Regions from separate parts of the Homo sapiens genome. Here regions 2 and 3 are each linked to region 1. Evidence: promoter capture Hi-C in 16 types of primary human blood cells and fetal thymus (Javierre and others, 2016). All regions are on one chromosome and are shown on one strand. Each heading gives the region's core, a stretch centred on a gene start or on the middle of the fragment in contact. The rest is flanking DNA. Distances are from core to core; before and after follow the strand shown.

Evidence for each region. The method cuts DNA at HindIII sites, captures the fragments that hold promoters and counts their contacts. A CHiCAGO score of 5 or more calls a contact.
Region 2: a contact is called between the fragment with the promoter of KRT83 here and the fragment with the promoter of KRT73 in region 1, in 6 of 17 cell types (total B cells, M2 macrophages, neutrophils and 3 more). The highest score is 8.6, in total B cells.
Region 3: the fragment with the promoter of KRT86 here is called in contact with the fragment with the promoter of KRT73 in region 1 in 2 of 17 cell types (neutrophils and M2 macrophages); the score reaches 7.3 in neutrophils.

Annotation. Positions count from the first base shown.
Region 1 is chr12:52,616,904-52,620,053 of GRCh38, reverse strand. KRT73 (keratin 73) reads left to right here and starts at 1,495. Exons shown (of 9, transcript NM_175068.3): 1 at 1,495-1,976. The coding sequence starts at 1,530. The HindIII fragment of the contact is 4,368 bases long and covers 1-2,798 here.
Region 2 is chr12:52,319,677-52,322,922 of GRCh38, reverse strand. KRT83 (keratin 83) reads left to right here and starts at 1,525. Exons shown (of 9, transcript NM_002282.3): 1 at 1,525-1,971. The coding sequence starts at 1,588. The HindIII fragment of the contact is 9,694 bases long and covers 1,328-3,246 here.
Region 3 is chr12:52,273,319-52,276,641 of GRCh38, reverse strand. It overlaps KRT86 (keratin 86), which reads right to left and starts at 1,997. Exons shown (of 11, transcript NM_001320198.2): 1 at 1,920-1,997; 2 at 696-821. It overlaps KRT86-AS2 (KRT86 antisense RNA 2), which reads left to right. Exons shown (of 2, transcript NR_199073.1): 2 at 1,565-3,323. The HindIII fragment of the contact is 3,258 bases long and covers 1,481-3,323 here.

The DNA of each region.
Region 1 (3,150 bases), core at 246-2,745:
GCATTGCCTTTAGTGAAATTGAAGACATCAAAGAAAATGATTATTCTTAACTAGAAAACAACCATATTGTATAAAACAGAGGGGAGGTTGAATTTGGCAATTGCTTAGTACAACAATTTTAGAGGCATATCATAACCTCTATACAGAAATAGAAAAGAAGGATGGGCCAACTGTTCATTCAAGTACTCCAGCTAGTGAAATACTTGTGTTTTTATGGAGGAAATTCTATACTATGGATATATTTGGGATTTGGGATTTGGGAAACTCTTGGGTCACATACTTTGGCAATGTCAAGGATCCATGAAATTCAAATGTCTTCCCCTACCTCCCCATCTCCAAAATTGTGAGCTAGGTTTGGTCTTCATAATTCGGGACCCAAGAGCCTAGCACAGTACCTGGGAGAGAGTCAGCCCTCAAGAGAAGTCTGTTAAACGAATGGATAAATGAATGAACAAGTAGATGGCTGGCTGGCTGGTTGGACGGATAGATGGACGAATGAATAAGGCGGGCATAGCTCTGAATGTGGAGTCAGAAGACCAGCCAAGGGAGTCCTCAAGGCTGGGGCCTGTGCTTTTTGGGGGCATTTTCATTCTCTGGGATTCACACAAAGAAAGGACTCACTAAATGTTTGCTAAAGGAATGACATCCTCAATTATCTGAACCTTGGTTTCCCCATTTGTGTAATGTGGATCATCACCATTCCCCTCCATGCAGACTAAGTGGATTAAATGAGCTTCTTGTGTGAGGAGCTCTGTTACACTGTAAAGTGCTGCACCAGTGTCAGCCATCGTGAATGGTGCAATGACCATAATTTCAAGGTCAAGAGTCAGGGTAGTGGGATGGTAAAGGGAAAAAGAAGTCAGTGTGTGCAAAGGAAGGTGAGCAGGGCAGCCCGGCTGGCACAGAGGAGCAGGAGAGCTGCCTGGGAGGGCACAGCAGGGGGCTGGCAGCCAGAGGCTGGTCCTGGATTCCCAGTGTGCTCCTCTCCTATGGCCCTGGCCAGCCATCAAACCTGTCTCCAGGAACTCTGGGAAGCCAGGCAGCAGCAGCCTCTTCTTAACCACATAAAAGCAGCTCAGCCAGGGTCCCTGAAGCAGCCCATCTGATGCTGGCATGGTTGTGAGATTTCTAACAGATGACACTGTCAATTAAAGGTCTCCCCTCTGTACCCCTACAATCCCAGGCCCCACCACTCCCTGGGGAACAGCAATTGAGACTGCGACAAACCTCCCACCTAAGATCTTTCTATGGATAATGTGCCCATGCTAATTACACATGTTCATTAGATAAAACTCAAATTACATGAGCAAGACTTGCAAGACTAGCACTTTGGGAGTTTTCAAGTCATTTACCTGGTGTCTGATTTTGCTGGGAGAAAATGATTTCTTGCTTCCAGGCAAACTGAACCCACAAATTAGGCCCATGGCTCCCTCTTGAGTCCTATAAAGTGGGAGCCCAGGATCACAGGCTGGTGAACTGCATCTCAGCTAAGGGTCAGCATCTTATCCCCACTTTCTGGCCTCCCCACCATGAGCCGCCAATTCACCTACAAGTCGGGAGCTGCTGCCAAGGGGGGCTTCAGCGGCTGCTCCGCTGTGCTCTCAGGGGGCAGCTCATCCTCCTACCGAGCAGGGGGCAAAGGGCTCAGTGGAGGCTTCAGCAGTCGGAGCCTTTACAGCCTGGGGGGTGCCCGGAGCATCTCTTTCAATGTGGCCAGTGGCAGTGGGTGGGCAGGAGGCTATGGATTTGGCCGGGGCCGGGCCAGTGGCTTTGCTGGCAGCATGTTTGGCAGTGTGGCCTTGGGGTCCGTGTGTCCGTCGTTGTGCCCGCCCGGGGGTATCCATCAGGTCACCATCAACAAGAGCCTCCTGGCACCCCTGAACGTGGAGCTGGACCCTGAAATCCAGAAAGTGCGTGCCCAGGAGCGGGAGCAGATCAAGGTGCTGAACAACAAGTTCGCCTCCTTCATTGACAAGGTGGGTCTTTCTGGAGAAAGCTGATCTTGGGCTCCCCTTTTAAGGACTCAGGAGGGAGCCACTGCCCTAATTTGTGGTTCAATTTGCCTGAGAGCAAGAAATCATTTTCTCCCAGCAAAATCAGACACCAGGTAAACAACTTGAAAGCTCCCCAGGTGCTGGGCCCATAAGGCTTGCTCATGCCGTAGAGCCCCTTCCTTCCCCCGCCTTCATTGTCCTTGGGGTGCTCCCTGTCTGAAGCAGACGAAGGCAGGACACCTCCCCAGGATGCAGACATAGCCCAGGGAGGAACTGGACAAAGCCTGGACATCAGAGGCAAGGGACCAGGGTTGGAGGGGTGAGAGGAGCCAGCAGCCTAGCCCAGGAAGGTGTCCAGGAAGCAATGAGAGCGGTCTCTGAGTTGAGAAGTAGCAGAGTGACAGCCTGTGAGACTTAGAAGCTAGGCGAAGGAGATGCCCTTGACAGCCTGGGGCATCTAGACTGCCATGCGACCCAGCTGTTCCTCCTGTGTCCCCTGAAAGCTCAGACTCAGTCCGTAACACACACAGCCTATGAGGCAAGGCAGCTGGAGGTCACGGTGCCCTAGAGCAGTGGTTCTCAAAGGTGGCCCTGGAACCAGCAGCAGCAACGTCACCTGGACGCTTGTTAGAATGCACACTCTCAGGCTCCACCCCAGAGCAACTGAATCAGAGACTCTGCAGCAGGGCCCAGCACCCTGCATTTTAACAAGCTCTCCAGGTGATGCTGATGTACACTCAGGTTTGAGAATCACTGAGGAACAAAGTGGTAGGAAGGTATTGGGAAGCAGAGACTTCCTAAGCTTAGAGGAGCAGGGGAAGCTCACCCGGAGCGACAGTGAGGTAGGGTGGTGAGGCATGAGTAGGAGTTTTCAGATGGAGGTGGGGAAAAGGCAATCTAGGGAGACAGCACGTGCAGCATGGTAGAACTTGTCTGGGGAATGGGAGACCTTCGGTTTACGACATCACTGTATGAGTAAAGAAGGAAGCCAGGAGGGCTGGGCACATTATGAAGAGTGTGATAAGGAATATGGACTTGACCCTGAGGGTGATGTGGAACCACCTGAGGGTTTTAAGCAAGGGAATGATATATTTGTAGGTTGCAACTTGAGAATGCTTGTTCTGCTGCTGGGACAATGCTGTGATTGAGATAGTAG
Region 2 (3,246 bases), core at 276-2,775, 300 kb after region 1:
AAGATGAGAGTCACAGGAGGGTTACTATTAGCCCAGAGTGGGTCAGTGTTGGGTTGTGGCTGGGTCAGGACACAGGTCCATCAGTGGAGTCCTCCTCATCCTCTCCTGACGAAAGCAGTCCAGAGATGTGTGTTTGGAAGGGTTGATGGGCTCAGGTCCTCGGGTTAAGGCAAACCTCCTGGCTCGGTCCGACTGTCCATCCATCAAAGCCATTGCCTGTCCTAACCCAAAGGAACAAGGGCCCAAAGTAAGAGAGCTTGGCTTTAGGAACAGCCACATGAGCTAGCACCCTTCTCTCACCCAGTGTGTTCTCTGAGGTGAGAGAGTGATCTCATTTAAGGACCCTGCTGATGTCCCTCACCTCCCGCACCTTCCCTCCTTCCTGGTGAGTACATACACCCCAAGACCCCATCACTGAGCTTCCCTGCTGGGAACCTAAAGAACACCAATCAGCCTGGACATTGTGAGGGCCTTCCCCCCATCTGTGGCTTCTCATCTTTCCCCCTAGCCAAATGTTGGCTCCCCCACATGCATGCTACCTCCAAACACCCCAGGTCTCTGTAGGATTTCCAGAACCTAGCACAGTGGCTAGTGCATAGTTGGTGGGCACCAAATAAGTATTTCCTGAATAAATGAATAAATGAATAAATGAATAAATGAATACACATAGTCTAGTCTGCAAATCAGAGCCAGACTCTTTTCTGGTCATCTCTCAATCCTGTACTACCCCACCCCAATCCTCCTCAAGCCCAGGTCCCCACTCTCCTCCATGAGTCCCTGGAGCTCTGAGGTATTCCACACTCCCCGCTCCTGATCCCATCAGCAATGACACCTGGAACTCTGAAGCATAGCCCTGGCACTGTCCTGAACTCTCTGAATCAGTTTCTTCCATGTCCCAGATGGTGTCCCTGCACTAGGAATACCCAAAGTGCAAAGAACATGCCCTCCTCCCACCCCAAATCTCTACCCCCACTCCCATCCTTGACCAGGCTCTGAGCAGGAATAGGATAGGAGCGGCCAATCTTGACAATGAGGAAAGGAACCCGCCTTTGAGAAAAAGACAGGAAAGCCTACAGCAAGAGGTTGTCTCAGAGGCAGCCCCCTCCTTGGGACAGGCCAGCCACTCCACCCCAGGGCTTGGCCATGGGTCCAGGGCCCATAGCCTAGCTCTGCCCCTTTCAGAACAGGGTTCAGAGAGCAGGCTTTACCCCAGGTCACTGCACCCATTCCCCTCGCTTGGACCGCAGAATGCAACTAATGCTTTCAGGAACCCCTCTCCCCGCTCCACAGCAGTGCCAGTGGGAGGGGCAGGAGCAAGGAGGAAGCTTATAAAGGGCTTTGAAGATGAAACAGGGCCCGTGGCCAGGGATTGTTGATGCAGCCACACTGAAGAGGCAAGCAGGGTTCTAGCTTAAGAGGCCAGGGTGATGCCAAGCCAATAAAATTCAGCTATTGTCTCTTTGCTCCCTCTTTTAACACCAGCTGCCCCTGGCACATAAAAGGGCCTGCCATCAGCCAGGGAGCACAGGCCCTTGGTTCCATCCTCTGCCATCTACTCCACTGTTCAGACACCTCCTAACCTCCGTCATGACCTGTGGCTTCAACTCCATAGGCTGTGGGTTCCGCCCTGGAAACTTCAGCTGTGTCTCTGCCTGCGGGCCCCGGCCAAGCCGCTGCTGCATCACCGCCGCCCCCTACCGCGGCATCTCCTGCTACCGCGGCCTCACCGGGGGCTTTGGCAGCCACAGCGTGTGCGGGGGCTTCCGCGCCGGCTCCTGCGGACGCAGCTTCGGCTACCGCTCCGGGGGCGTGTGCGGACCCAGCCCCCCATGCATCACCACCGTGTCGGTCAACGAGAGCCTCCTCACGCCCCTCAACCTGGAGATAGACCCCAACGCGCAGTGCGTGAAGCAGGAGGAGAAGGAGCAGATCAAGTCCCTCAACAGCAGATTCGCGGCCTTCATCGACAAGGTGGGTGTCGTCCTGGATCACACCCTTCCTGAACCCCTACTCATGTTCAGAACTCAGGCTGGGCACTGACAGGGAAGTCAAAGGCAAGAACTTGCCCACAGAAGTTCCCAGGCCAAAGGGAAAGGTAGTCATACTTCTAGGACACAGACAGAAAGACAAAAATGGGACCGGGAGCTACCAGACTGATGGGGGAGATTAACTGAAAACACAAAAGCAGAACGAGGGGCAGAGCCTTCCACACTGAGTGATAATATCACCTAGTGAGCAAAGGACCACTGTGTGGGCGCTCAGGGCATTTGAAGCCAAATAACTGCTTAAATGCCAAGGAGATGCTGTCTCCATCAAGGCAGGGCTAATAAGTGTGGTGCTGGAAAACTGTCTGGAAGTGGGTCTCGTGGATGGCACAGAACTCTTTCTATACCACACAGTGATTTGGCCACTGAGCAGGGTCTAGAGTATTTTGTCCAAGCCACTGTTCCTGGGGCTCAGGATCCAGGGGTGAGCAAGAGTCATGGTCCCCATCCTCACAGGCTTTATGGGGAGGCAGGCAGTGCACAGTCTGGGTTTGGTTGAAACCATCTGTGTAGTCAGTGTCCAACTAGAGTTTGCAGCCACCTTCTCCACTGAATCCAGGCAACCACCATGTGGCAGTGATGTGAGAGACTGGGAGAAAAGGCTCTGACTAGGAACATGTTCTGGGGTTGGAAAGAGCCCTCCAGAGCCAAAACCTCAAGAGAGGAGTCACACTAGAGAGATGCCCACCAGAAAGGATCGGGAAAAAAAAATGTGGAATTTCTAATAGCATGAGAGACCAAGGATAGCATAAGATAGGACCTACCAAGGGTGTGGCCAAGTTATTAGACAAAAGAAGCTGAGTGGAGTAGTGGGCCAACCTCATCGCTGGGAGAGGGATGTTCCTATAATTGTCAAAGGGAGAGAAGACACCCCCTGCAGCGCAGAAGATCGGAGTTTGAGCTCTTCTCTGCCACTGTGAGCTCTCAGGCAGTCAGGGAACCTCCTTGGCCTCATCAGTAAAATAAGGGGGTTGGAGCACAGGACATTCCTACTCTCATATTGCAGGTGACTATTATTCTAATTGCATTGTTGTTGTAGGGTTTGAATAATTGGCACATGCTTTATTTTTCAACTTTTACAGTTTGCCTTTCTAAAAAGGTCCACCTGGCTTGGTGTGATTGAACAGCAGTAGCTGTTCAGTGTGGGGTGCCTTTCTGTTAAAGGGTTCTTTTAATCCTCATAGTAAGGTGAGCTTTAACC
Region 3 (3,323 bases), core at 748-3,247, 340 kb after region 1:
CAAATACATCTGCCCTCTCCCATTTCCTGAAATCACCAGCACCTCTTTTATATTTTCAGACTTGCATTTCTCTGGCGACATTGACTCAGCACCTTTTCTCTTCTACAAGGATAATAACTTGCAGCCAGGACAGTGATAAATGGCAAGGGACCCTCTGCCTCACATCCAAAGGATGGGATTGGGAGTGGTGGGGACTGCGGCACACCAGGCAGCCTATACCGCATGTGAAGAAGAGAGAGATGATAGAGGCCTCTCTCCTCTAGCCAAATGTTGCCATTTGAGAATCATAATTTAACATTGCCAGATCTTCACATTTTGAAATAGAACCCAGAAAACTGGGTTTCTAGGTAATATCTTGCAATTTCTGAAGATGGGCTCAAATGTAATACTGAGCGAGAAAAACAAAACACAGACATAAAAATGAACATACACAAGTAAAAAGATAATAATGTACAAACAAGCATATATCTTCATACAGATTTACCTACATGTTCATTACTTACATAAAATACACAATGTCCTAGGCAGAGGTAAGCATGATATATGCATGCAGCTGCACTGCTGTATGCTTAGACATTCACTAAGAGAAAGTGTAGCCATCTAATCCAAAGGGTAGGTGGGGAGGGGCAGTTGTCATAAATAATGGTCACCATCCCACCATGGCCACTCTGTTGCCCCCCACTCCCACCTCTCACCTGACTCTCAGCACTGCCCACCTCCACCGTCAGCCACTGGATGGCCTGATTAAGCCTGTTCAGATCCTCCTTGCTGGGCTTCAGGCTCTGCGTGTGTTTCTGCACAGTTGCCTTTAATTCCTCACACTGTGGAGCAGACGGCAGAGGGGAGCTGTAGTCAGGAGGTGAGGAGGCCAGACAGGGCTGCCCATCCACCTGCTGTCACCAGTGGTCACCTAGCTTCTCTGGGCATCCCTTTCTCCATCTGTGAAATGGGAGTGATCATTTTTCCTATCTCCAAAGGTTGTTGAAAGAACACAGTGAGCTTGCCTTGTGCCCATGGGGCCAGAAGATGCCAAAGGAAGCCTGAACTCAGGCAGGAAGGGCAGCAACACAGGGCAGTGATCTGTTGAGGGGAGCTTTGGGACCAAGATCACATAGGGTTTATCCCAGGAACAGGGAGAGTTAAACTCTAGGAAACTGATTATTGTAGTTTACAACATCTAACCATTTAAATTAGTACAAAAAAAATTAATGAAATTCAATATTTCCTAATTTAAAAAACACATTTTAAAATCTAGGATTAGGAAGAAATGTCCTTAATTTGAATGCCATTAATCAGAAACCAGGGACAGTGATCTAGATTCCAGCTTCTTCCCCAAACCCAAGGCTGCTATGGGAAGTGCTGTCTATGAAATCAGGGGACCACTTCCCTTCTTGCACCTCGCCCCCATGTGCATTCAATACACGAATAGCCAGGGAACAATAACTCACACTTGCACAGTGCCTGATGCTTTTCACAAGCTTTTACTCCACGATCTCACTGGGGCCTCACAACCACCCATGAAGTTGGCCAGATGGATGTGACTTTTCCCATTGTCTTTCCTCAGGCAAACTGGGGCTCATTCCATCCACCACGTGCAAGAGGGGAGTGAGTGACCCTGCCAGCCGACAGTTGAGCCAGACTACATTTTAAGCCCATGCTCTTTGCTCTCCACCAAGGTTATACACACCCCCTCAACCCAGAGAGCAAGAACTGTTCACACCAGCCCATTGCAAACTTTCTTCTAGGGCAGATGGAGTGTGGGGGAACAGACCTCAAAACATCATCTCAATTTCTGCTGTGTTCCCACTGCCCCCAACTTTTCTGCTCCTGTTCCCAAAAGCTGTATGCCCAACAGATCTGGGTGAAGTCCAAGACACCTCATCCCTGTGTGACCAGGGAGCCACGTGTATGAGTCTCACCATGGAGAAAGAACTGTGGTCTCCTCCAAGCCTCTCTTGAGCACCAAAGCCCAGCTTCAGCCCAAGAGCTACCAGAATCCTTGCCACTGAGGACTAGGGCCTCTTCTTCCTGGGGGCTCTGTGACCTCATCTCATTACAATCACAGAGTTCTGCCCAGGAGGCCTCAGGGGCATAGGGTAGAAGAGGGCCATACTCTGACCCCAGGTGGGAAAATGGAAGTTTCTGGGCTGAAGTGGAACTTAAAGGAAAGTGGAGGAGGGGAAGGCTACCTCAGGTGGAGGAAATGTGTGGAGCTGAGGAGCTTAGGCTTATGGATGGGCACTGGGGAGCCACAGAGGGTGTCTGAGCAGGACAGTGGCCTGACATGAGATGTGATTGTCTAGAAGCAGTGCAGAAGATTGACAGGAGGGCAAGAAATTGGGACTGGGGATGCCAGTCCCAAGACTTGGTAGGAAATCTTGGGTAGGGCAATGACTTTAACCTGTAGGAATGAGTAGGGGCTAGAGAGCACAAGCTGTGGTCAGCATTTTCTTTTTGTTTTATAAATTTCTCATATATGCAAAAGAGTATGCAAAACCTACATTTATTGATTTCAATAGCAACAATAATAAAACAAATCCTTGTGTACCCACCAGTACCTTCAAAGCCCCCTGCGGGATTTTTGCTGATCCATCTCCAACCCCATCTGATCCCCAAAGTAACCACTGTCCTGAGTTTTTATATTGGTCATTCCCTTGCTTTTCTTTATTACTATGTCATAACGTGTATCCATAAACTAGTGTTGAGTTTTGCCTACCTTTAAGTTTTATATAAATAGAATTACACCTTGTACATTTCTATGACTTGCTTTTTCCTCCTCAACATACTAGTTTTGAGATTCATCTTTTTGATGCATGTAGTTTTATTTCTCAGTGTTGTATAGTATTCCAAAGTATGACTACATATATATAGATAGATACAGATATAGACACACACATATACATATATCTCTATTTTCCTATAGGTAGCACATGTGTTTTTTGTTTTTGTTGTAACAAACAATGCTGCCATGAACTTTCTTGTACATATCTGCTGGTGGACCTCAACAAGAGGTTCTTTGGGGTACTAGTTGTCAAACTGTTTTTTAACCTCAACTCTAAATAAGAAATATATGTTGTATCATGAATCACTACCTACGTACAAATACACCACATCTACTGAAATAAGTTTCATGGAAAAATCATTTACTTCTACTATGTGTAAGGCAATCTGATCTAACCAATCACCTTAACACATTCTTTTACTTTCAACTTATGTCCTCATGTTTTAAGTTTATTTCTTATAACTAGCATATTACTTTATTATTATAATATAATGAAAATGAAATACTCATGAACCTACTTACTGATCCCAAAACTAAAATC